Linked DNA regions of Homo sapiens: region 2 is linked to region 1. Evidence: promoter capture Hi-C in 16 types of primary human blood cells and fetal thymus (Javierre and others, 2016). All regions are on one chromosome and are shown on one strand. Each heading gives the region's core, a stretch centred on a gene start or on the middle of the fragment in contact. The rest is flanking DNA. Distances are from core to core; before and after follow the strand shown.

Region 1 (7,750 bases), core at 3,499-5,998:
CTAACGAACCAAGCCAGCACATTGCTGGGTTCTGGAGCTCTGTGACTCAGAAGTCACTTTTCTATCCAACATATTAAATGTCAAGTAAAATATATCCGATAAGAGAGATGAAACTTTTTCGGGAAGCTTGGCCACTGAGTGAGTGTCTCTCTTTTGCAAATGGGCCCTGTATGTTGCATCTGTCTTTTAGGTGGATTGCCAACCTATAAGAGATAAAACATCCACCCAAGAGCTGCATTAAAAAGCATAAATCATGAAGACCATATCTAGTCCTCTATAAATCCCTTCAAAAAGAACTTTATCTGTAATCATAGTAAAGGTCTGTTTCATTTAAGAAAGAAAAAAAACCCAAACAGAAACACATGCAGATAGAAAACAGAGAGAAAATAAAAGAATCACAGTGGTATTTTTATGCATGCATAGTATGCGAAATTTGGAGATGAAGAGTCCCGACAGAATGCTTAAAGAATCTGTAATACACAAGAATATATAGGTTCCAGGGTGGGCATAATCAAAAAGGGCAGTATTTATCCATCATCTATCATTGGCTCTCATTTTGCAAAGCTTGAAGATTAGAACCCCTGATGTCGAAAGATCTGAAAATATTTAGAGCTAGTTCTTGCATGGCTCCATGAAGAAGGGGACGAGGAAAGAAAGAATTATATGAGGACTACACTTCACTACTCTTTTTTATAGCAGATTGTTTTCTTTAAGAGGAGCATAAGCTGTGATTAAAGTGGCAGAATTTTGGTGCCTCTAACACCTGGAATGGAAGCAGAGTAACAAGAAATACTTGGCAACCCAATTATTTCATGCAGGTTTTCATCTACCCAGAAAGCTGTCCTCAAAATAGAATGGAACTTTTTCTCCTTTATCAATCTGGGAGGTGCCTGGGGCAAAGTAACCAAGAACCTAAGAATATTGTTGATCAGTATTCTCAACAAACAAAATCTAAATACACTGTGATCCAAGGAGTTTAACAAATAGCTTCCTAATTTTATTTCAATTACTTAATGGTACATTCAGCTTACATTACAGTGCTGTCTTGATGTGAGGCAGAAAAGAAACAAGACTTGTCCCTAGAGAGATATGGGGTTATTGAGCTTTGTTCCCAGAAGTGGGAGGATGGATTAGATAACTGATCTTTCTATAGTTTTAAGGAATATTTTAATTCAACTGTGAAATAATGGGAGAATAAAACAAATTCAAGATCAACACTATCTAGGGATTTGGGAAGGTTAGATGTATATCCCGAAAATAATAGCTAGCGAGAAGGAAATCTAAGAAAATGTTTACCTTAGGAGACTAAAAACTTAATATTTTAGAAATAGCAAAAGGCCCATTTATTTCTTATAAATTTTTAACCAAAGACATTTACAGTTACTGAATAGGCTGAAATAGTAAGATTCTTATACTTTCACATACTGGGGTCTCAGGAGTAAACATTTACTAGGGGTCACTATGGGAAATACAATCCTTCCCATCAAGAACAACTGTGGAGACAAAACATTCCATCCGAAATGGATTATCAGGCCTCAACTTGTACAAAGCAATGCACAAATCAGACTCTTTCTGTTGTCATTCCAAGTGGGGGAGGGGTCAGCATGAAGCAGGGTTGCTATGGGAAGGTTTCTGGGCTATGAACCTTGACCTGAGGAATGTCCAAGGGTGAAAAGGGCAGGAGTCATAAGAAAGGGGGATGGGGCCTTGCAGGTAGAGGAGTGAGCATAAGCCACCTTTGTAGGTTACAGTGAATGACGTTTGGAGACTGGCTGAGGCTAAAAACCTGGGGCCTACTGTAGAAAGTAAAGCTACCATTATTGAGAGCTAAACATGCCAGGCACAAAGCTAAACATTTCCTTTACTTTTTTCCCTAATTTAATTGTAATAAAACTGAGCCCCAGGCCACAGGCTCGGATTGCTTCTCTTTGTTAGCCACACTCACTTCCTAGATGACCACATACGATCTCTCAGTTTTACTGCCATTTGTACTTGGATGATTCTCAAATCACCACCTTCAGCCTGGACATCTCCTCCAAGCTCTGGACTCACACGTCCGGTTGCCTATTTGACATTTTCACATGCATGCCTGAAGGATATCTTAAACTGAATTCCTGCTTTCCATCTATCCCCCAAACAAAACAAACAAGAGAGAAATAACTGCTCCTCCTCATCCACCTTCCAAACACATCCAGAAACCAACCACTTCTCACCACCTCCACACCTACCACAGCAAGCCACCCCCATCTCCAGCCTGAATCACTGTGGCAGCCTCCTAGCTCCTAGCAGGGATGAGTGTGAACCTCCCCTCCAGCGCCCCACTGAGTCTATGCATTCCAAACCTGTCCTTTGTAGGACAGGCTCCAGCCATCAGTACTGTCGTTTGAGGTACAGACAAAGAGTTAAGAGTAATTACTTGACAGATGACAGCAGAAACAACAGATGCTGAGTGAATCTAAAAGGAAAACTGCAGGGAGGGGTTGAGGGTGTCAAGGATGGAACATTGAGGACATCCAGAGGGGAATAAAAGAAGCCCCACTCTTAAGAAACATCACAGTGTTGGCCAGGCGCAGTGGCTCACGCCTGTAATTCCAGCACTTTGGGGGATTGAGGCGGGTGGGTCACTTGAGGTCAGGAGTTCGATACCAGCCTGGCCAACATGGTGAAACCCATCTCTATTAAAAATACAAAAATTAGCCCAGCGTGGTGGTGCACGCCTGTAATCCCAGCTACTCGGTAGGCTGAGCCAGAAGAATCGCTTGAACCCGGGAGACGGAAGTGGCAGTGAGCCAAGATCAAGCCACTGTACTCCAGCCTGGGCGACACAGCAAGACTCCGGCTCAAATAAAAAAAAGAAAAAGAAAAGAAAAGAAAAGAAAAAGAAAAGAAAGAAACATCACATTGTAACTCAAATATGTCCCCCGCCTTGAGCAGCCTTTCTTGACTCCCCAGGCAGAGCTGAAGGCCTCAATTACAGGATTGGAAATCACCGGATGCCTGTGCTAAGAGCCTCCCCCACGAGAATCTGAACTCGTTTTGTGCCTCCAGCACCAGATGCCTACCTGGTAAGCCCTTGGCAAAACTGTGCTGAATGTTTAACATGGTATCACGGACAGTGAATTAGGAACTTGGAGAGGAAGTGGCTGCTTTCTTCTGGAAGATCTAATCAAGACTTTACACAGGAGGTGAGGTTTGCGAGATAGAAAAAGGTATTTCAGTTTATCCAGGAAGTTAGCACGATGGCCCAGCAAGGAACAGCAGTGGTGTGGAAAAACGGAGGGCGAGGCCCGAAGGAAGCGAGGAAGTGAAGCCCGGCAGGAGTGCTGGGTTGTGGTGCTGAAAAGTAGGCTAGCACTGGGCAGCCGAAGACAGCAGCGAGGCAAAGGAAGAGTTGTTCCCTCCCCTCCAGGACCGGTGATGGGAAGCGGGGTGGAGGTTGGGGTGGATGTCTAAAAGAAACGAGGAACAGCCGGGCAACGGAAAGTAGTTGCTTTGGAGAACGTGGTTGAGGCTGGAAGCAGGAGTTGATGGGTAAAAGGATGAGGAGAGCTCATACCTGTAGTTCTTTTCATTTCCATGTACGACGCAAATTACCGAGCTCCAAAAAGGAGATGAGCCCAAAACCTTAACAATCAGAGGCTAAAAATGGACTAATCAGTGAGGTGTAAGCCAAGAAGTTAATGAGGTAGGAGGCACAACACGGTCGAGAGTTATAAGACAAACCCAGGTTATTACTTGGGTCCTCGAGGATCCAATTAACTTCTCATTAAGTGGGGCTGGGTGCTCGGCTTCTCAACTGGCGCCAGCCTCCCAGCCCCCAGCCAACGCCTGGAATGAGACTCCAGGGAAATTCGGCCAGCTGGTGGATCTTCAGCGAGATGAAGGCAGTGGCGTGGACAGGCCATTCACGGCGATACCCACCCAACTCTGTCCAGGCCTTAAGCAGAAGGCTGGGAGCAGCACAGCACATCAATGGCAGCCACAACGCCTTCCTTTCCCTTTCCCTTTCCCTGCCTATCACGCAAACACTCCCCTACTAAAGTGTATCCTCCGTGAGAACAGGGCTCCGTCCTTCTTCACGGGATGCGCGGAGCCTAGAAGGGCGCCCGGCCACGGCGACCCCCAAGTACTGGCTGAATAGTGAATGAACTCCGCTTGGCCGCACTTCAGTCTATCTGGGCACTGAAAGATGCGACCCGTGGAGCCGCCTAAGAGAGCACAGGGGGAAGAGAAGAAGCGGAAGCCTCCGGAGGTCCCATCGAGGCGGCCTGCGGGACCTGAGCGCCGGGCTCCGTAGCGCGGTCGGGAGGGGGCTTCTGGTCCCAGGCCCAAGACCGACCGCTTTGCAACTGACCTTCCGGCGGGGGCGCCCGCGCGGGGCACAGCAGCCAGGCTCCGGCGTCCCGCTCCCGCCGCCCCCCGGCGGCGCCCGGCGACCGCTGCGCACGTAGGTCACCTGCCTCCTGCTGGCGCCGCGCGGCTGGCCCGGCGCGGGCGGCAGGTGCGGCCCAGGTGGCCGCCAGGCCGGGCCCGGCGGGGCGCTGCGGGTGGGGGACCCGGGCCCGGCGCGCCGCAGCTCTGCGCAGAGCCGCAGGCCGAACAACAGCACAGCCCCGAGTAGACACCGGCGCAGGACGCCGCAGCCCCTCCCGGGCGGCCTCTCCCGGGCCATGGCGCTACACTCGGGGTCCCGCGGGCCGCGCCTGGCCGGCAGCAGGGATGTAGCCCCACAGGCCGGAGCGGCCAACTGTGGGAACTCCCCCGCGGGCCGGGGTGCGGGCTCGGACCCGCCTCCCTCCCTCCCGACCGAGGAAGCCCCGGCGTAACCTTATCCTGCCCTGCCGAGCGCGCCCCGCCGCTGGAACGGTGGTGGGCCGAACGCGGTCACAGGGGGCCCTCTCCGCCCCTCCGGAGGTGCCAGGGCCCGGCTGTACAGGGTCCCTCAAGAGGTGCCCTCCGCCCCGGCCTCCAAAGCCTGACGGAGCTGAAAGACATAGGGCCAGAAAAAGCGCATTCCTAACGGGATCCCGGGCCATAACTTCATTTTCTGGTATTAGTGTTGTTGGAGAAACACAGGAGGAGGGTAGGTGAGCATACAAGGAACAGTCAAGCAGTTTGCACCATTAAGCACAATATAAAAATAAATAGCACTTATGCCCGGGCTTACAACTTCTCTCTCTCTCTCAAGAAAGAAAGGGATTGGGGGGCGAAGAGAATAGCACTCAATGCAGAATAATCAAATTAGAGTTATTCTATGTCTAAATTCTGCCTGAAGCCAATTCGTGCTTTCTTTCCGTGTTATGAAATGTGTGGGGGTGAAGAAGAAGAGGGAAAAAGCCAGCTAAGACATCTGACAGCGGGTTGGTGAGGAGGGGGGAGAGAGAACAGAAGTTACCATGGCATGATGTAAATCAAATTAATTTAGCTCCAAACACACACCTCCCTGCTGTCTCGCAGAAATACAGAGGGACAAATTTATCTTTCGGCAAAATGCTCCCCAGCTGGTATTTCCATCACCACCTTGACCTTAATTAATCAGACTGAACTCTCACAGCCTGAAGTCCAGTGGTGGATGTTCCATTTTCAATTGTTAGTAGAATCCTTTCCCACAACCCATTTGGGGTGGGTTTGGGTTTTAGGTTTGAGTTTGGGTTTAGATTTTTTTAAGCTGTAGTCACTTTTCTTTTTTTCCTTGCTTTACTCTTGCATTTTCCATGCTTCCATGGGAGACTGCGCCTGTAGACCTATCCTCTTCCCCCGTAACAGCCTACAGCATGGACAAGAGAGAACAAATATGGGGCCCTACCCCCCTGCCCTTTTGAATGTTGGGTATTTTCCGTAGGAAGCCCTCGTCTCTAAAATCCTCTTCTCTTCCTGGCTTAAGAAAGACCCAATTTATTCCCTGCTAGTGAACAAAGCACTTGGGCTGTTTCTCTACATGTAACAAAATATCTCCACCCAGTCTAGTCCACCCCCTGGCCACACCAGATCCTCAGGCTCCTGAACGTTCCATTAGGATTGACTTTTGCTTTTTTCTTAGATGAGTCCAGGGGATATTGCAGATGGGTTCTATTTTAACAAATTTAAACAAGTACGAGTTTTTCCTTACACAAACTGAGAGCCAGCCTCACATCCTGTGACTATTTACTTGAACTGTGTTTGAACCAGGACCCTGCCGTTCAAGCACTATGAGACTTTCAACGAAGTACTGGACCTCTCTGAGTTTCCGTTTTCCCATGAATAAACAGATCTATATATATGGCAGGATTATAAATGTTGCATAAAATATTATATGTTTCATGCCCAAATAATACTGGCTCACAGAAGGGTCTCAATAGTAATTATTTTGTTATTTACCATGGAAGAAAATCCTGGATGTTGTCATGAAAAACAAAAGGTAAGCATTGATTCCAAAGTGGGCAAAGATAAAGTATAAGGAAATTTACAAATAATTTATACAGCATTCTCTGGAATTCAGAGTACCCAATAATTTCAAGAAAATAACAATTAATCATCAAGAAACGAACTCTGTTAAGTTGTATAAGGCTCTTTAAGACAGAGTTTGTAGGGTGCTTGATAAACCTGGATTGGTAATGTCTGATGTAGACTTTGCTGGAAGTTTTATTTTCTATGCAGTCAACACAGTGCCGCTAACTAGAGAAGTCATATTTTGAAGATCATGGTGCCACTAGTGCGTACCCTCTGCTCCTCTGTTGAGTTTCTCTCTGGGGGTGGGTGGGGAAGCATAAGCACTCTCCTATATTATTAAAATGGGGATATTTAATAAGACTCTGGGCTGGGGGTGGAGGATGGAGTGGGGGTGCATACAAAACAGTGTAGCTCTTGAAGAGAATGGGCAGGATGACCTCATATTTTCCTTTATCTCATTTCTACAGTTCTCTAATAAAATGTTTTCATTATGGAAAAAAATTCAAATTACATGGAATATTTAAATAGCCTTTTATCTTTTGCAGTTGTGTTTATGTCTATGTGTTTATTACTAATAAAAAAGAACCGTTTATATGTATGTAGCATCAATTTTCTGGAAGAAACCTATTTTTAACTTCCACACAGTGTTTTCCTGTGTGGTGGATGATAATGAATAGTAAAATGGGTCAGTCTGTGGGCTGAAGAGGCAAATCTAATGGATCACTGTTGTAGCTGACAAGCAATCTTTCATTCACGACCTTTGCTTTTCTTATAGAGTTGAACTTGTCTCAGTCCTTTCTGGATGTGTCTCAAAAATGCAGATAATCATTAACCGCTGTGTCATAGGCTGGTTAATTAAACAAGCAGGTCAGTAAACCACAATAGCGGCTTTCATCAGATCACAGATTACATCCTCCTAGAGGTTTTAGCCAGAAAAATGTGTGAAACAGAACATTTCTAATCTCCTAAACAACATGCATTTCAACTTGGACACCTGCTGTAGTGCTGTGATTCTCAACCAGGGTTGGTTTTGCCTCCCAGGGGACATTTGGCAATGTCTGAAGATGTTTTTGGTTGTTACCACTGGAGGATGCTACTGGCGTCTAATGGCTACCTATTAGACTAGGGATGCAGCTAAGCCTCCTCCAGTGCAAAAGATAGCCTTCCACAACAAAGACTTGTCCAGCCCAGAATGTCAGGAGAGCCTAAGTTGAGAAAACCTGCTGTAACTATAGATGCCAATGTGGTCATTTTAAATTATAGACTGTCCAAAGAGAAAACAGAGCCGATAGTATCCTCACCTTCATCAAGTGGTTATTTA
Region 2 (7,750 bases), core at 2,663-5,162, 640 kb before region 1:
ATCCTATTTGATGACCTTAAGGGTTCGATTGTGGGATCAGGTGGATTCAGTCGACAGGTATTGTTTCTGGAAGATTATAGGGGGCCAACGTTCAGCTGCCAACTCCTGGACTGTGTGCTCTAACTCTGGAATACTCGTATTGGGCTCTGACTTTGTTCTCTGGCTCCTCGAGGTTAGGTATCCGATGCGCTGAGGGTGCCAACGTGTAGTGACTGCTGGTCACTATGCTTTGATGGGTGGTGTCAGCCAAAGCATTTCATGGTGCGGTGGCGGTGGGATATGTCCTCATTCGCATGTGCCAGTGGCAGCGAAAGCATGGTGGCTGCAGCAGGATGCCAGCAGGTGCCTGCCTCCATGTGGGCATTCACAGCAGCAGCAGAGGCAGCATGGCTGAGGGGGCGGGGGAGGCCCTGCTGGTGACTGTGCATGCAGTCATCATGGTGATCCTGTTAGCACAGGGGCAGGGCACTGGTAGGTGCAGGTCTATATACACTCTCTGTGTGCTGCAGGCAGTGGTGGTCACTGAGGGCTGGGGAAGGTCCACTGGCCTCTGTGCATAGTTTCATTCCCATGGCAGCATTGGCACAGGGGTGGGATGAGGACGGGGCAGGCTGGCTCTGTGCCCACCAAGGCTCCAGCTGCAATGGCAGTGCAGCTGAAGGAGGGAGGTGGATTGCACCCCCAACTGCAGCAGTGGCAGGACAGGGTACATGCGCACACGTGCACTGGTAGGGCAAGGAAGACAAAACCCACCTGCGCACACACATGTTGGCAGAGTGATGTTGGAAGTGGCAGTGAGCCTGCGGGAAGCTGCAGTGGAGGGAGGGAGAGGGTGGGCTGCTGGGTGGCCATGGGGGCCACCCCACTAGAGCTCTTCACCAATCAGGTGCCAGTCCACCAGCACAGGGTCTCTGATGCAGGCCCCCAGGACACCTAAGGCTTCCCTGCAAGCAGGGCTGGGGCCCTGGGAGAGAGGTCAGCAGACCAAGGGGTGCTCAGGTTGACTGTCCAGTCTGATGGGCAAGAGCGCCCTGCAGAGTTCAGGTCCGACAGTTCCCCTAGGGCTAAAGTCTCCTATGGGAACAAGTCAACCCTAGGGGGATGAGTGTCCCTGGCTGTGCTCCACTACAAACGCTCCCATACCAAACCCTCTGGGCTCTGCATAAGCCAGCGTGTTGCCCCTACCACTTCTCTGAGCAGCTCTTCCTGCCAACTCGAGTGTCTGTGATGGTCAGGGAGTCTCCTTCTGTCAGGATTCCAGAGGCCTTGGCGAGAGTAAGTTTCTCCTTACCAGTTCAACTCACCCATTCCCCCAGAGTCACTGGGGGCCAGGAATGAATGCCAGTGCATGGTAGTCCCATGCAGGGTTCCCAGCTTCTTCCCTCTTCAGCCCAGCTTCTGTGTCTTCCCTCCACCACTCTCAGTGCCTTCCCTCTGAAGATCTGTTAGGAGTGCTCCAGTTGTCCTGGTCCCTTGGTGGCAGCTGTTCCGCCTGGCTGCCTCTAGTCAGCCATCTTGCCCAGCACCCCTTCAGTATTTATTTAATAAGACTAATGTGATTGTGTTTAGTCAGAACGCTCCAAGGAACTGTTTTAGGAAAGAAAGAATGATGATAATTTCTTGTAGCTTATCTATAAAAGGTCATTTGGGAAGGACAACCATTTTAATCATTTATGGGACTTTTGGGTAGATTTTATAGTTACTATATTAAAGACATTTGCAGACATTTATGAAAATTTGTAAGTAGTTTTTTGATAAGCTGTCAGTACTTTAGTAGCTATAATTGCCTAAGCGTTCCTAATTATATGTTGAGCTTTAGAATTTTTACCAGAGCTTCTTCCTGGTAAAGCTTAAACATCAGCCTCCAATCAGTTAGATTAATCTCTAAATTTATGACAATTAAATTCATCTGACCTGGTTACTGGGCACATTTCAGACATCAGACTGATCTTTATCATGAAACCACTAGGAATATTTTAATTTTAAAATTGACCTTTTGGAGTCAGCTTTTCTTTAATCTGCCAGTTATACATAACAGAAATATTTCTTTAAAAAGTAACCTGACTTTATTAATGTATTTAATTTCAAAAACTAAAGTGGTATAAAATGTGTATAGGGCAAAATGCTTTGATAAACTAATGACATTCCTTTTTATTTATAGAGATACTTTCTAGTTGGGAGCAATAATGCAGAAACGAAATATCGTGTCTTGAAGATTGATAGAACAGAACCAAAAGATTTGGTCATAATTGATGACAGGGTAAGTATCCTCCAAACCTGACTGCAAAAAAACTTTCATACCTGTTGTTTAAAGGACATGAAATATCCTTACAGTTTTTAGTGATATATTATTTTTATCATAAATCTAAAAGTTTCCGTTATTTTTCTTGGTTGGCTAGAATTTGAATCTCCAATCTGATTTCTAGAAATCACTGGTGTCAAGAAGTACGCCAGAATTATACTTTGCCCCTCGTTTTGACTTGTTTTCGAAAACACACTCTTAGGATAAGATAATGAGTATTGTTTCTTAAAGAGGGCTGACATTTTAAGGATTCAGTGTAACTTAATATTGTATCTGCCAAAGAGACGATCTGTTATGGTTCTTTAATATCAAGCTACTTGAAGTCAGGGAGGACTTCTATGCTACAGACTTTATTTTCCTCCTAAAAATCACCTCTAGGACCTTTACTGATGATTTGCTATACACTAAGGAAATGTTAAGCTGTTCTTATCCAGAGTTAGATTATCCAGAGTCAAGAATACAGAGGCTGGAATTCAGATGGCACAAAAACCTGAAGCTGTTAGTCAAAAGTGAAATACTATATGGTGGTTTGAACAGTTAAGTTTAACTGTTCACACAAAAGAACTCAAGTTATCTTTTGTGTTGAAATTCCTGTCTGTGACTATTTCGGAATCCATAAAGATTCCTGGTTTCTCAAATATGTAGTAACTACAGTTTGGAATCCATTTTCACTAAGCTACTTGTAACAAAACTATTTTCTGTGTTGTAATAATTTTAGATAAATTCTTTGTTACGATTTCCCATGCTACTCCTGGGGTCCATTCTGCTCCCCACCTATCTGAGCATTTTTAACAATATAATGTAATGGTTCTTGGCTTTATTTGGAGATCGGAGCAATTGGTCAGAGAGCCCTTTGAAATGTTAAGAAAATCTATGGGCCTTCTCGTTAAAGATGCACATTTACTCAAAATTTTGCACATAGTTTTAAGGGATTCATGGACTCTTGAAATTTACCTGTAGATCCCTTAAATCTCTGCATCTCTGGTTTAGAGTATAAGGTTTGGACATTTTTTTTAGTATAGCAGCATGATCCAATAACCAACCTTAATTGCTAATGTTAAAGAACTTGTTAGCTTTTTAAAATTGTAGCTTACTTGTGTACTATTATATACTTCTGTATGAAATAGCTGATGATGCTTGTAGGTAACTTTTTAACTTTCAGGCACAAATAATAAATAATCTAAAGTTTAAGCACAACCTTACAGAGTAAATGTGCTTATTCTTAGCATGTCTATACTCAACAAGAAGTAAGGGAACTTCTTGGCCGCTTGGATCTTGGAAATAGAACAAAGATGGGACAGAAAGGATCCTCGGGCTTATTTCGAGCGGTTTCAGCTTTTGGTGTTGTGGGTAAGAAATCTGCCCCCCTTCTTACAATCTCTTGTTTTTTGTTTTTGTCTTCTCTACATAGACTACTTAAAGGAGTTTATAAGGCTATAAGGCTTTAAAATTATAATTACCTGTAGCTTTGGTTATTTAAAACTTCATTATCCATCAATCAGATAGCAAACAGCGTTTCTGTAGCATCTGCTTATGCACTTAGCACTGCTCAGTTTTATTTAGGATACAAACAAATATCAAAATGTTTTTGGCCTTTGAGGAGGTTGCTGTCTGTCTCATTGATGAATGAAAAAGTAAAAATTAGCTTGGACTGGACTGTAAACATCCACCCTGCCATTCGTCAGCTGGAGTAACAAATCACGTAAAACTGGATTTAAAATTAATAGGAATTTCTCCTAAGGTTAGTCTATAGTTATAAAATGTCATAACCCCCTTCTTTGGATGACTGCTTTTTTTTTTTTTTTTTAACTCACTGAGAAACTTTGGTTTCTAAAATCACAGACCATCAGAAACTTCACTGTTTGAAATTGTGTTAGTAAGATAAAACATCCCACATTTACTTGGACAACCCAAGTCACTGTGACACAGAGAAGCAGCTTTGGTTTACCAACTCAGGTGCAGAGCTTCAGAGACGAGGTTTCTGAACACAGTAGTCCATAGATATGATGATTCTGTTGTTTTCAAGGAAACAGGACCCTTGGTCTACTTCATAGTCCAAACGTGATATTGATCTCTTTAAATATCACCTTGCTTTGGTTTGAGCCTCTTCATTTAAATTTTACCTGAGCTCCACCTTTCCCCCAATTCTGTAATAACTCCTTTACTTTAGCAAGATGCTCCATGGTTTCTCTGATATGCATTGTCCCTCCTTGTGGTGAATCAATAAACCTGTCTTTACTGTACTATGGGTTTGTCCCTGATTGGTCTGTGGCAGAGGATAAAATCCAATGTACATGAAACAACTCTAAGATTATAAGTAAGAGCCAAGCTGTGTAGTATGAATTAAATGGTGTTGGAGGTCACAGAAGAGGTAAATTACTTGGACCTGGAATGGCCAGGGAAGATTTCCTATAGTAGATGAGACTTGAGCTGTACCTTGAAGGAGGAACAAGGTATGGATAAATGCAGAGAAGAAAAGAGGGAACTCCAGTAAGGGTGACAGCAGAGGCACATACATGAAGGTACCCAGAGGTGCTGGGAATGCTGGGGAGTAGTCAGGCAAGGCCAGATTGCTTTGGGCTTTGAAAGCCAAAGCAGAGGGCTATTGTATTTTAGCATCTCTGCTGCCAGCACCTTATTTTGAGTCTTTTTTTCTGTAAACACTTAGGAAATTATCTCTGTGTTTCTTAAACCTACTGGACTGTGTGTAATATTAAGTGGTTGTATTGGTTCGTTCTCGCATTGCTATAAAGAAATACCTGAGACTGGGTAATTTATAAAGAAAAGAGGCTTAATTGGCTCATGGTTCTGCAGGCTGTACAGGAAGCATAGCAGCTTCTGCTTCTAGGAGGCCCCAGGAAACTTACAATTATGGCAGAAGGGGAAGGGACAGCAGGTGTGTCTTAGATGACTGGAGCTTAATTAAGGAATGGTGGGGGAGGTGCCACACATTTTTAAGCAACACTTTTAAGCAACCAGATCTCATGACAACTCTGTATCACGAGAACAGCACCAAAGGGGTGGTTGTAAACCATTCAATCATCCATCCCCATGACCCAGGCACCTCCCACCAGGCCCCATCTCCAACAATGGAGGATTACAATGGAACATGAGATTTGTGTGAAGACACAAATGCAAACCGTATCAGTGGTTTCTACAGATATTAACAAAATTAATATGGACTTGACTATGCTATATGTTTTTCAGATTCTTATTTTGGGTCTTCTGTTTAGCACTTTCTATTTTGTGACTGTATGTCTATGAAAACTTTGATTATATTCTGCCATCCTTGGAGTTTGCTTTTCTAAGAATACTGTCGTTGCTCTTCATACGTAATCCCTTTAGGCTCATTTTGTGTGTTAGGTGGCTGCAGGGGAAGGTAAAGAGTAGTATAACATGACTGGTTTCTTCTCCTCAGGCCTGGCCCCTTTTCTATGCCTTTTGCTTAGTCTTGAGAAGGCCCTTGAGGTTACATGTTGAATGGATGAGTGTTTGTGGGAATGTGTATGTCTGTATGTGTCACGTGAGTTCATGTGCTTAAATGCCATAAATGCCAGTATGTTAAATTCCACTTTCAGTCCTGCTTATATTTTAAATTTAAGAAAAAAATACTGTAAATAAAATGTGTTTAAAATATAGTAGACTCTAATTTAAATAATAGTTACTTAATAGTTTAAGCTTAAATGTTGATACCTTATTACATTTTTTTTTTTTTTTTGAGACAGAGCCTTGCTGTGTCACCCAGGCTGGAGTGCAGTGGCGCGACCTTGGCTAACTGCAACCTCCACCTCCTGAGTTCAAGCCATTCTCGTGCCTCAGCCTCCCGAGTAGCTGGGATTACCAGTGTGCGCCACCATGCCTGGCTGGTTATTGCATTTTTTGTAGAGATGGGGTTTCGCCATGTTGGCCAGGCTGATCTCAAGCTCCTGGCCTCAAGCAATCTGCCTGTCTCAGCCTCCCAAAGTGCTGGGATTGCAGATGTGAGTCACTATGCCTGGCCACAACTTTTTTGATAGGCATTTCATAATGTGTATATACTATTGAATGCCTTATTGGCCAGATTTTATTATTCATAATTGAAGTTTTCTTGATGATTAAATGTAACGAAGTGAAAATCACTTATTGAACTGTGTGGGTTTTGTTTTGTGTGTTTGTGTCTGTGTGTGTGTGTTTTTTTTTTCTTTGAGACAGGACCTTGCTCTGTCATCTAGGCTGGAATACAGTGGCCAGTCATAGCTCGCTGCAACCTCAACCTCCTGGGCTCAAATGATCTACCTGCCTCAGGCTCCTGAGTAGCTGGGACTACAGGCATATGCCGCCACGCCCGGCTAATGTTTTTTCTTTTCTTTTTTTTTTTAGAGGTGATGGTCTCACTTTGTTTTCCAGGCTGGCCTCAAACTGCTGAGCACAAGCAATCCTCCTGCCTTGGCCTCCCAAAGTGTTAGGATTACAGGCATAAGCCACCGTGCTCAGCCTGAACTGTGTTTAAAAATAGCTGTCCTTGGGTATTCCAGAGTTGTATTGGGCTGTTTGACTTTACATTAAATGGCCTCTAGACTGCTGGACTCTTTTGTTTTTTTTTAATACTTTGGTCACCTTTTATTGTTCTTGACATGTTTGCTTTTAGCATATTCCTAGCCTCATTTTTAATCTATTGATAACCAAGCTTGTAAAACTAGAACTTTTCTTTGAATCAATTGATAACCAAGTTTGTAACCAGACGTTTAATTTACACACAAGTTTTGGTTAATAAACTCTGGGTGAGGGCTGAAGGTGTCTCCATGTTTCTTTTAAAGGTGACATTCTTAGCTATTTCTGTTGAAGTTAGAGCCCTTTTAGCTTTGAGACTGTGCATGTATGGTGAAGTCATTGTAAGATTAACCTGCAAGTAAAGTAAGACAATAACGTACTGGTAAACATTTAGTATTTTTATGGAAATGTGCCTTATGTGTCCTACTTCAGTCATGTAAATAAAGTTAAGAATCCATGAAAAGTAAACAGGGAGTAATAAAAGTCTATGATTTTTCTAGTACAAGCTTAGAAATGTAGTGGATACTGAAATTATTAACACAAAATACTTATCTTTGAAAAATGTGTAGTCTAGTTGTTAAAATAACACGTGTGAAATGACTAGAATGGTTGTGTTCTATTCTGTGGCTAAAATATTTTCTTCACTAACTTTTTGAACATGCTGAATTGGTGGAAAATATTTTTGGTGGAATGTTTTGGATTGTTGTCATGGTTTATTTAGTACACATGTCATGAGAATCTAGAACAATACTTCTCTAGGATCTGTAATAAAGGACCATTTTTCTCCCCCTCCCTCACATATATCACATGTTGCAGACCAACACCACATGTGACTTAAAACACGAGTTTAATACTATCCAAACTAGTCTATGCCCTGTGTGAGGGCAGATTCACTGATCATGCACACAGATGTTGTGG

Evidence for each region. Contacts are between HindIII fragments. The CHiCAGO score rates a contact against its expected background, and 5 or more counts as called.
Region 2: a fragment that was not itself captured here is called in contact with the fragment with the promoter of METTL24 in region 1 in 1 of 17 cell types (total CD8 T cells); the score reaches 5.3 in total CD8 T cells.

Annotation. Positions count from the first base shown.
Region 1 is chr6:110,353,601-110,361,350 of GRCh38, forward strand. It overlaps METTL24 (methyltransferase like 24), which reads right to left and starts at 4,749. Exons shown (of 5, transcript NM_001123364.3): 1 at 4,355-4,749. The coding sequence starts at 4,672. RefSeq lists an enhancer at 7,086-7,380. The HindIII fragment of the contact is 9,659 bases long and covers 563-7,750 here.
Region 2 is chr6:109,712,917-109,720,666 of GRCh38, forward strand. FIG4 (FIG4 phosphoinositide 5-phosphatase) reads left to right here. Exons shown (of 23, transcript NM_014845.6): 2 at 2,162-2,260; 3 at 3,529-3,652. Among named protein-coding and RNA genes, the nearest start is that of FIG4, 25 kb to the left of the region's middle. The HindIII fragment of the contact is 4,131 bases long and covers 1,848-5,978 here.